Linked DNA regions of Homo sapiens: region 2 is linked to region 1. Evidence: promoter capture Hi-C in human tissues and cell types (Jung and others, 2019). All regions are on one chromosome and are shown on one strand. The core of a region is centred on a gene start or on the middle of the fragment in contact, and the rest is flanking DNA. Distances in the headings are between cores, read along the strand shown. Region 1 overlaps IKZF3 (IKAROS family zinc finger 3). Region 2 holds the start of GRB7 (growth factor receptor bound protein 7).

Region 1 (5,104 bases), core at 1,742-4,241:
TGAAGGATTTTGAACAAAAACAAAAGCACAACACAATTACATAGTTAAACCTCCAATGACTTTGAGGTAGAAATTGTATCATGGAAATAGTTAACTAAAACCAAATATTAAGACTTATACAGGGAATAAAGGTAGTAGTAACCTAATCTGTAAATGTGACTTTGTACTACATTTTATTATTTTTTCAGCACGTCTTTAAAATAACTTTTCTAATGAAAATTAGTATGTCTACTATTTAGTAGGCAAGCAATGTGAAGGGAAATTGATCCACAATGACAGTTCTACTCATTCTGTTCTCACTCATGAGCTGAATGTGCAAATTGTTCCTTGCCACCATCCCATATTCCCCACACCCACCACTTGCAGCATTACACCGCCAAACACCACCCAGGAACGGATTTCCTATTTCGTCATTTAAACCCATTATCTTGTTCCCTTACTATCTTGCCAAACTGGTTTCCCTCCACTTACATTTCTGAGATATGAAGTGGCAAGATAACAAGTCTAGACTGTTCGTATAAATAGACAGTTGGGTCCTAAAGTTGGAGAAAAGGACCAAAAGCCAATAGTCCTCTTTTTTTTCTTTTCAGTGCACTGCCTAAACCACTCAGTAATCCCAAAGAGCTTGTCCAGTTACAAAGCATTTCTTTGTGTATGTGTGATATGTGTGTGTGTGTGTGTGTTGTTGTTGTTGTTGTTGTTTAGAGACAGGGCTCACTGTGTTCCTCACACTGGAGTACAGTGGCAAGATCATAGCTCCCTGGGCTCAAGCAATCCTCCCACCTCAGCCTCCCAAAGTGCTGGATTACAGGCGCAAACCATGGAACCTGGCTCTTTGTGTTTCAAAGGGCACTCATTTCATGGTATTGTGCATCAGCTATCCAACAAGTGTGAGGCAAAAGACTAGCAGTTTAGGAAAGAAAATGAGTGCCATCTTCAATTGAAAACTAGCCTTTGCCTAACTTATCAACTAGAAAACAAGGTTAATTCAGTGAAGATCAACTGAATCAGTAGGAGTGTGTTCACATGTACAATGAGAGTGGAGCTCTTGTAGTTAATATTTTGAGTGAATGACCCAGAAAGAGGGTGTGGGTGAACAGGAGTCCTCTAGATTCGTTTCAGAGGATTTCTTTCAATCTAATCGGAGTTGTGGAAATGGGAAAGTCTCCACCCATGCCTCAAAATATGTCCATCCATGAACACTGCAGAATTTTATGTTTTTAAATGTCAGGCATTTGGTCACTGATTTACAGAATAATGTTTATCTGGAAATGACTCTAAAGACCAGTTTGGTGGGTAACGAGGAATAAAAGGTGATGTTATCTCAAAAGTTTGCCATTTAGTGACCTGCCCTAATTACAGTTATTTAGGTCAATGTGTCCACACTTCAGCATCCTCCCAAATGTAGAGGATGTTGATTACGTGTCCTCAGAAAGCTGCTTGTTTTAATTGACATTGACTTCAGTAAAATGTAGACAGCGACTGCTGAGAAACAAATGGGAAAACTAGATGGGTAGCACCGTGCTTGGGGTAATTCCTGGGTAATGATTTGGCAGTGAGAGGAGGGACCACAATAGACTAATAAGAACAATGGTAAAATGGGCATAAAAGGTAAACATTCCCAGAATACTGTTTTTCATTCTTTTTTTCCCTATAAATCTTTTTGTTGATAACTACAGGGTTGAGGGGAGGCTTACTTGGATTTAATCTTCTCAAAATTGCTGGAACCAGGATGAATGTTCCTAGTCAAAGTGCAAACTTAGCTACCTCTCCCCTGATTCTAAGAAAAAAGTCTCCTAACAGCCCCAGGAACTTACTGCAAATTCCAAGCTTTGTCTTTCATCTCTCTGCTCTTGGGGCTTTGGGTAGTGCCACATCTGGTGGTGGTTTTGTGTGAAAGGAAATAATATATATAAATAATTTCCTGTTTGGTCATTTAAACCTATCCCTGTGCTGGACAGAATTTGACCCTCTTCACTCAATAGCAGTGTCTTGTGGCTGAAGTGCCCGTTATTTACAACTGCTGGTCAGCCAGAGTCAGTCGAGTACTTTTGCACTAGCCCAAAAGCCACTCAGGCCCCCTATTCTGACCCTTACTGTTTTCATTTACACAAATAGTTGTTAATAGCTTCACTGAAGGCTATGATTTATTCCTTTAGAGCCTAGAATTATTTTTGACAAGAAACTCACTGTCTAGTAAATATTGTCATTATTATCACATTATTATCATCCTCTTCTTTTTCATTTTTGGAGCTGGATTTCTTTTTCTTTTTAAGAGATGGGATCTCACTGTGTTGCCCAAGCTGAACTTGAACTCCTAGGCTCAAGCCATCCTCTCACCTCAGCCTCCTGAGTAGCTGGGACTATGGGCTAGTGCCACCACACCTGGCAGAGCCAGATTTTATGTTATTCCAGGAAAAAAAAAAAAGCTGAGCTTTGGCTGAGTGCAGTGGCTCATGCCTGTAATCCCAACACTTTGGGAGGCTGAAGTGGGAGGACTGCCTGAGGCCAAGAGTTGGAGACCAGACTGAGCAATATATTGAGACTAATAATTTTTTTTTTTAATTAGCCAGGCATGGTGGCTTTAGACTGTAGTCCCAGCAACTTTGGAACCTGAGGTAGAAGGATTACTTGAGCCCAGGAGGTTGAGCCTGCAGTGAGCTGTGATCATGCCACTGCACTCCACCCTGGGTAACAGAGTTGAGACCCTGTTTCAAAAATAAGTAAATAAATTAACTAAATAATGAAAACTGAGCTTTATAATGTATTGTGTAATGACTAACATACAGTTTTTTAAGGCCACTAATAAAATTAGAAATATTTAATACTTTGGGGCTTTTTTTTTTTTTTTTAGACAGAGTCTCACTCTGTCACGCAGGCTGGAGTGCACTGGCACTAATAGGTTGGTGCAAAAGTAATTGTGGTCTTTGCAGTTACCTTAATAGTTCACCGTAACCTCAAACCCCTGGGCTCAAGGAACCCTCCCACCTCAGTCTCCCAAGTAGCTAGGACTACAGGCGCATGCCAACATGCCCAGCTAATTTTTTAAAATTACTTTTTGTAGGAACAGGATCTTGCTATATTGCCCAGGTTGGTCTCAACTCCTGGCCTCAAGCAATCTTCCTGCCTCAGTCTCCCAAAGCACTGGGATTACAGGGGTGAGCCACTGTGCCAGCCACTACTTGCTTTTTACTCTAATCCCTTAAACTAATTTCAATTTATTCTTCCTTAGACATAATAGAAATGTATGGATAGTTCATTTTAGTTTGGATCTCCCGAAGTGTTTATGAGAAAACAGAGAAAAATGTTTACAGCATCACAATATGTTTGCCCAGGGCAGGTGAGGGCAAACTGTGGCGCTCTAGGCAAGTGCAGCCAGTGGCCTGTTTGTGTACAGGGATTTTTACGTTTTTAAAAGGCCGTGGAACAGAAAAAAAAAAAACAAAAAACAAAGAATATAACATAGAGACTATATGTGTCTGGCAAATTTTTAAAATTTACTGTCTGGCCCTTTACAGACAAAAGTTTGCTGATCCCTGGTTCAGGCTAGCATCATGTGTTAAAATGTCAAGCCTTGTATTTAGAGAAGCTGGTATCTCTTTGAAATTTATTTAATTAATTTATTTATTTTTTGGAGATGGAGTTTTGCTCTTATTGCCCAGGCTGGAGTGCAATGGCTCAATCTCGGCTCACCACAACCTCTGCCTCCTGGGTTCAAGCGATTCTCCGGCCTCAGCCTCCCGAGAGCTAAGATTACAGGCATTCGCCACCACACCCAGCTAATTATTTATATTTTTAGTAGAGATGGGGTTTCTCCATGTTGGTCAGGCTGGTCTTGAACTCCCGACCTCAGGTGATCTGCCCGCCTCGGCCTTGCAAAGTGCTGGGATTATAGACGTGAGCCACCGTGCCTGGCCTTCTTTGAACTTTAGACATAAATTTGGGCACTGCCTGCTGAATTGAGGTAAATTATATTCATTACAGTTTACTATTTTAGTTGATTAGATATTGCCACTATTTATATACTCTTCTAGTAGTTCTCAATTCTGGCTGCATTTTAAAATCATCTGGGGAGCTTTGAAAATATTCTTGCCTAGGCCCCTATACCAGAAATCCTGATTTAATTGATCTGAAGGGGGGCCTGGGCATAGGTATTTCTTACCTGCTATTCAGGTGAGTCTAATGTGCAGCCAGGTCTGAGAACCACAGGCCTACACCACTCACAGGTCTATTTGTGGATGGGCCCACATTCATAGGCAGGTTTTTTTGTGTTTTGTTTGTTTCTTTGTTTTTTGAGACGGAATTTTGCCCTTGTTGCCCAGGCAGGAGTGCAATGGCGCCATCTCGGCTCACTGCAACCTCTGCCTCCCAGGTTCAAGTGATTCTCCTGCCTCAGCCTCCCGAGTAGCTGGGATTACAGGCATGCACCATCACACCAGGCTAATTTTGTATTTTTAGTAGAGACAGGGTTTCTCCAAGTTGGTCAGGCTGGTCTCGAACTCCGACCTCAGGTGATCTGCCCACCTCCACCTCCCAAAGTGCTGGGATTACAGGCATGAGCCACCGCACCCAGCCCATAGGCAGTTTTTATTCACATTTTTATTAGAAATTCAATACAGATGCATTATACAAATTGTTCTTTAATTTCAAGGCAGAAGTGTTGCTTAGGGAAATTTTAATTGAGACTATTTTGAAATGTGAAGAGCATATGAAACAGATAATACAGAGCACAGAGAAACAGAATATGAAAGATAGGAACTGAGAGGAGCGTGCTGAAAAAAAAAAAGAAAAAGAAAAAGAAAGAAACCACTCAGAATTTCAATACACAAATCACTGAGTAGATGTCTTGCTATCTGTGTGAGTGTACCTATTTTCAAAAGTGCTGTTAACATAAACAGAGCAGTAAATCTGGGGCACCATGCTTTTTTTTCAAAGTTGTTAAGAATTATATCAGTCTGCAGGTGTCACACGCAGTTACTCAGAATCAGAAAGAAGGCTGATCGGGGGTTAGATCTCCATCTATCTATCTTTTTGCAACCAACCACGTCCAGGCTGTTTATTTAATACTTCCTCTTGCTAATGAAGGTACTGGTTGGGGATGGGT
Region 2 (5,104 bases), core at 515-3,014, 42 kb after region 1:
CGTCCTCCCAACCTCCTTGTTTACTTCCTGAATCACGCCCCACCTGGCTGGCCCTAAGGGCAGGTGGCGGGGCCCGGTGTTCAGGGCCAACAGAAAACAACTCTGCTTCCCAGAGCAGGGGGAAGGGCTTGCGGGACTGAGGCCTGGGCCAGGGGCCTGGATGTGGCGGGAGAGCCCCCGTCCGCCCAGTACTCCACGCCCCGCCCCCACGGGAGAGGCTTATAATTTTTTAGGGTGCAGGGCCCAGGTGAGAAGGTGAGAAACCCCTGGATGACTCCTAGTATAAGGGAGGACCCAGGACTCTGAGGCCCCGCCCACTCTCACTCAGGAAAAATACCCAATGGGAGAAGGCGGGGCAGCTCTTTTAAAGTTTAATTCGGGAAGAATGCTGGAGTGTCTCTGCAGTTAATCATTACAGGCTGCCCGCCTCCATGAGGTCCCCCCACCAAGCATACAGTAGGATATCAGGAGAGGGGAGAGCAGAGTCCAAGACCGGCGGACCAAAAGAGGGCATTCCTGGGGGGCGGTGCGGCTAGTTGGGGGGCGGGGTGGGGGGCGTTCCACCTTGCCGGCAGATGCATTCATTCTCTGTCCTCAATCTGCCAGGGAGACCCAGACCGGGAACCTGGGTCTCTCCCTAGCCTCATCAAGCAGAAGAAACCATCTGCTATCCCCCACCCCACTCTCCCCAGGCCCCACCGCACTGCAGAGCCCCTCATACACCCCTCCAGCCTTCCTGCCCATTTCATGCTGAAGCCAGGAGGGACCCCGTCTCACCCGGCCTCCACTTTCCCATCGGAGGGCCGGAGGCGGTGTTGCTGAGAAGGGCATACAATCTGGAGAGATGAAGCCTCGACAATTTAGAGGATCCCTCTCCTTCACTGCCCTCCAAAGTGGAGGGGGCCCTCCCCACATCTCCCCGCAGCCCGCAGAGACGTCTGTCTTAGAGACTTGGGGAAACCCAAACTGGGGTAAACTGGGCGAGCCAGAGAGTGAGGGCGGCTCTCCCCGGGTGTGCGGGGAGGGGCTAGTTTCAGCGGGAAAGCCAAGTCGGAGGAGAGAATCAGGTCTTCCTTCCCATTCTCAGCTGCTGCCTGCAGGGAGGTGTACAGGGAGGGAACAAGGAGCGCTGGAAACCAGGATGGGGACGAAAAGAGGGCGGGTGGGGAGGAGGGGGCAGGGTGGGAAATGGACAGAAAAGAGAAAAGTGGGAGGCCAAGCAACCCATCAGGAGACCCAGCCTTTCCCTACCGGCCTCCAGACCGGCCGTGCCTGCCCCCAAAGGATAAATGCCCGCTTGGGTTCTTACCTGAACCCCGAGCGTCAGGACACCCGGCTGGGACCACGTCTTCAGGGAGGGAGACGCCAGGCCCTTAACTACCTGTCCCCCTCCAGCCCCCGCCCCTGGCCTGACATCACCGAGCGGGGGAGGGGGAGAGCCAGGTGGCTCCAATCCTCCCACCTGGGCCGCCGGCCAGTTCAGCCGGAGACTGGCACAGCCTGGGGCCCTGGTGCGGCTGGGGGTTGCCTGGCAGGCTGTCGTCTGAGACCGATCTCGGTCCCCTTACCTGGAGGAGCCCCAGCAGGAGTAGCAGGACACCCGTTCCGAAGTCTGGCTCCGTCTAGGAACCCCCAGATTCCTGGATTTTATTTCAGATCCACTCCCGCTTCTCTACAGGTGGTAGGAGGGTGTCCCGACTTCGGACAGAGAAGTCAGAGGCGGGGGGGAGCCCTGTGTGTCCAGATTCCAGGCCCAAGGAAACTAAAATTATCTTGGGCAGATGGGGGCGGGTCCAGGGGAGGCGCCTGGGAGGAGGAAACCTGGGAGGAGGGCGGAGACTCCCTGACTACGCCAACTGGGATTGTTTTTGCCCTTCCTAGCCTGGCAGCAGGTGCCAAGGGAGGATGCAGGTGCCTGGGGAGAGGCGGGGAAGACAGCCGAACAGACAGTACCACGAGCGAAGATCAAGAGTCCCGACCACCTGGGAGGGAGGGGGGAGGGCCTGGGGGCTGCAAGGTAAGGGGAACCACCCCATCCACTCTTTTCCAACACCCTCCCCGAACCTGGTCTGTTCATTGGCCAAGCCTGGGGGCCTGTCTGCAGCTCTGGATCCCACCCCATGGGGCAAAGAGCACCCTGCCGAGAGGGACGCCAGCCAGGGTGGTGTCCAGCAACATGGCCTGCCCCTCGATCTGCAGTCACCCTTACCGTGGTGGCTGCGCCCTGGCCCCTCAGAGGTACCCAGGGTAAGCCCTCCCTCCCCCGCCCCCCACCTTCTGAGCAAAGTCCAGAGTCTTGGCTTCTCCTTTAAAATCGAGGGGGTTAGGCAGGGTGGCACAGTGGGAGGAGCCATGGTGACCTGGAGAAAGCTCTGGCCTGGGCCCCTGGGGATTCCTCTTAGAGGGATCACTTTATTTTATTTTTTTTTGAGCCAGAGTCCCGCTCTGTCACCCAGGCTGGAGTGTAGTGGTGCCATCTTGGCGCACTGCAAACTCTGCCTCCCAGGTTCAAGCAATTCTCCTACCTCAGCCTCCGGAGTAGCTGGGATTACAGGCGCCTGCCACCACACCCAGCTAATTTTTGTATTTTTAGTAAAGATGGGGTTTCTCCATGTTAACCAAGTTGGTCTTGAACTCCTGACCTCAGGTGATCTGCCCACCTCGGCCTCCCAAAGTGTTAGGATTACAGGCATAAGCCACCACGCCCGGCCTGAGGGAACACTTTAGTTCTCTCAGGGATCACTTTAGCTGTCTCATTCAGTGCTGGGCAAACACAGGGTACTTGGGAGAGGGGTTAGGAGGTGGAGATCAAAGGCTGCGGCCACCACCCAGCTTGATGTGGGTGACAGGAAAACAAACAATCCTTAGGGTGATAAGAGGTCCACCCTGGAAGGGGCACGAATGAGTGGCTCCTGCCTCAATTTTCTCCAGAGTTTTCCTAGGAAAACCGGTATGAGTGGGCCCAGCAAAGAAGTGGGGGAGGAGGCAAGGTCTCTTTGGTGATGGAGCAGCTTGTGCAAAGGCAGAGTAGACAATTCACTCATTCATTTATTCAACTATCTGTTTAGTACCTACCATATGCCAGCCCCATGTTTTGTGCTGGGGATACAGGCGTAAACAACAAAAACAGACCCCGCCCATCCTCACACAGCCAATCAGGAAGATTGATGTTAACCAAAGAATCACACAAATAAGAAATGACAGGAGACAACTATGCTGGGAAAATGACTCACATAGGGAGTCAGGAAAGACTTCTCAGTGGAGGTGACAGCTGAGCAGAGGAGAAGCTGGCTGACATGGGAAGGGGGTTGGAATCGGTGGATGGGAATTGGGGAAGGAGGCCACTTTCCCCAGTGAGGAAATCAATGCCAGAGCTCTGGGCAGGAGGAGATGCAGCATGCGGAGACAGAGAGTGGGGTTGGAGGAGAAGGGAGGAAGCAGAGGCCACGTGGGTGAACCTGGACAGGTGTGGAAGGTGTGGAGAGAGGAAGCTGTGCTTCTGCAAATGTGGCCTCTAGACCTCCCTAACCTTGTGTGGAAAATAGATTCTTGGGCTCCTCTCCAGCAACTGAATCTCAGTCTCTAGGGCTAAGACCCAGGAAGGTGTGGTATTGACAAGCCCTCAGGTGGCTGTTCTGCAAACCAGGTTTGAGAGCCATCCATCCTGTTTGTCCAGATGGGCAGGAGTAGCGGTCAAAGACCAGACCCTGCAAGTTGTATTTAGACTTAAGTAGAAGCACAGAGGAGAGGGCACATTTACATTTTGGAAAGATCATCCTGGATATTGAAGGATGGGATGGAAACAAAGCCACAGTCAGAGGGCGGAGTGCTGTAGGAATCAACTTATATGGCTTTCTGGAGCGGGTGGAACTGTGTGAACAAAAACCAGGTCTGGGGTTGGGGAGGAGGGAGAGGGGTCCACAGTAGGGGGCACAGGGACTTGTGAGAGGTGATGGGACCATACTGTATCTTGGTTTTGGGGTTGGATGCACAAATGTGTGTGTTTCTTAGGACTCATAGAAAGGCACACTCAAGGCTGGGTGCGTGGTTCACCCCTGTAATTCCAGGACTTTGGGAGGCTGAGGCAGGTGGATCACGAGGTCAGGAGTTCAAGACCAGCCTGACCAACATGGCAAAACCCCGTCTCTACTAAAAATACAAAAATTAGCCGGGCGTGGTGGCGTACGCCTGTAATCTCAGCTACTCAGGAGGCTGAAGCAGGAGAATCTCTTGAACCCACGAGACGGAGGTTTCAGTGTGCTGAGTTCGAGCCATTGCACTCCAGCCTGGGAGACAAGAGCGAGACTCCATCTCAAGAAAAGAAAAAAAAAAGAAAGGTACACTCAAGAGGATGAATTTTACTGTGTATAAGTTGTATCTGAATTTAAAAACAACAACAACTATAAGGCCAGGTACGGTGGCTAACACCTGTAATCCCAACACTTTGAGAGGCCGAGGCAGGTGGATCATGAGGTCAGGAGTTCGAGACCAGCCTGGCCAACATGGTGAAACCCCGCCTCTGCTAAAAATGCAAAAATTAGCTGGGCATGGTGGTGTGCACCTATAATTCCAGCTACACAGGAGGCTGAGGCAGGAGAATTGCTTGAACCCAGGAGGCGGGGGTTGCAGTGAGCTGAGATCGTGCCACTGCACTCCAGCCAGGGTGACAGAGCAAGACTCCGTCTCGGGGGAAAATAATAATAATAATAAATAAGAATGCGTTTATAGGTCAATGGAACAGAATCCAGAGTCCAAGTAGAAACCCTTACATTTCTGGTCAATTGATTTTACAAGGTGCCAAGACAATTTCATGGAGGAAAGGATAGGCATTCAATAAATGCTGCTGTGATCAATTGGATAGCCACATGCCAAAAGGTGAATTTAGATCTTTTGCTCACAGGATGCATAAGAAAAAAAAAACTTGAAATAGATCAGATACCTGAATGTAAGAGCTAAAACCATAAAACTTCTAGAAGAAACCATGGGAGATAGTCTTCATGACCTTGGGTTAGGCAGAGAACTTGAATATAACAGCAAAAAGACAACTGACAAGAGAAAAAAATTGATGTTAGACTTTGTCAAAATTTAAAATTTTTGCACTTCA

Evidence for each region. Contacts are between HindIII fragments. The study calls those that stand out against the background at their distance.
Region 2: a contact is called between the fragment with the promoter of GRB7 here and a fragment that was not itself captured in region 1, in 2 of the 25 tissues and cell types used here (lymphoblastoid cells and psoas muscle).

Annotation. Positions count from the first base shown.
Region 1 is chr17:39,777,992-39,783,095 of GRCh38, reverse strand. All of the region lies in intron 6 of IKZF3 (IKAROS family zinc finger 3), which reads left to right. Among named protein-coding and RNA genes, the nearest start is that of GRB7, 43 kb to the right of the region's middle. RefSeq lists a silencer at 4,482-4,715. The HindIII fragment of the contact is 7,861 bases long and covers 1-5,104 here.
Region 2 is chr17:39,734,598-39,739,701 of GRCh38, reverse strand. It overlaps GRB7 (growth factor receptor bound protein 7), which reads right to left and starts at 1,764. Exons shown (of 15, transcript NM_005310.5): 1 at 1,569-1,764. The HindIII fragment of the contact is 6,261 bases long and covers 1-3,924 here.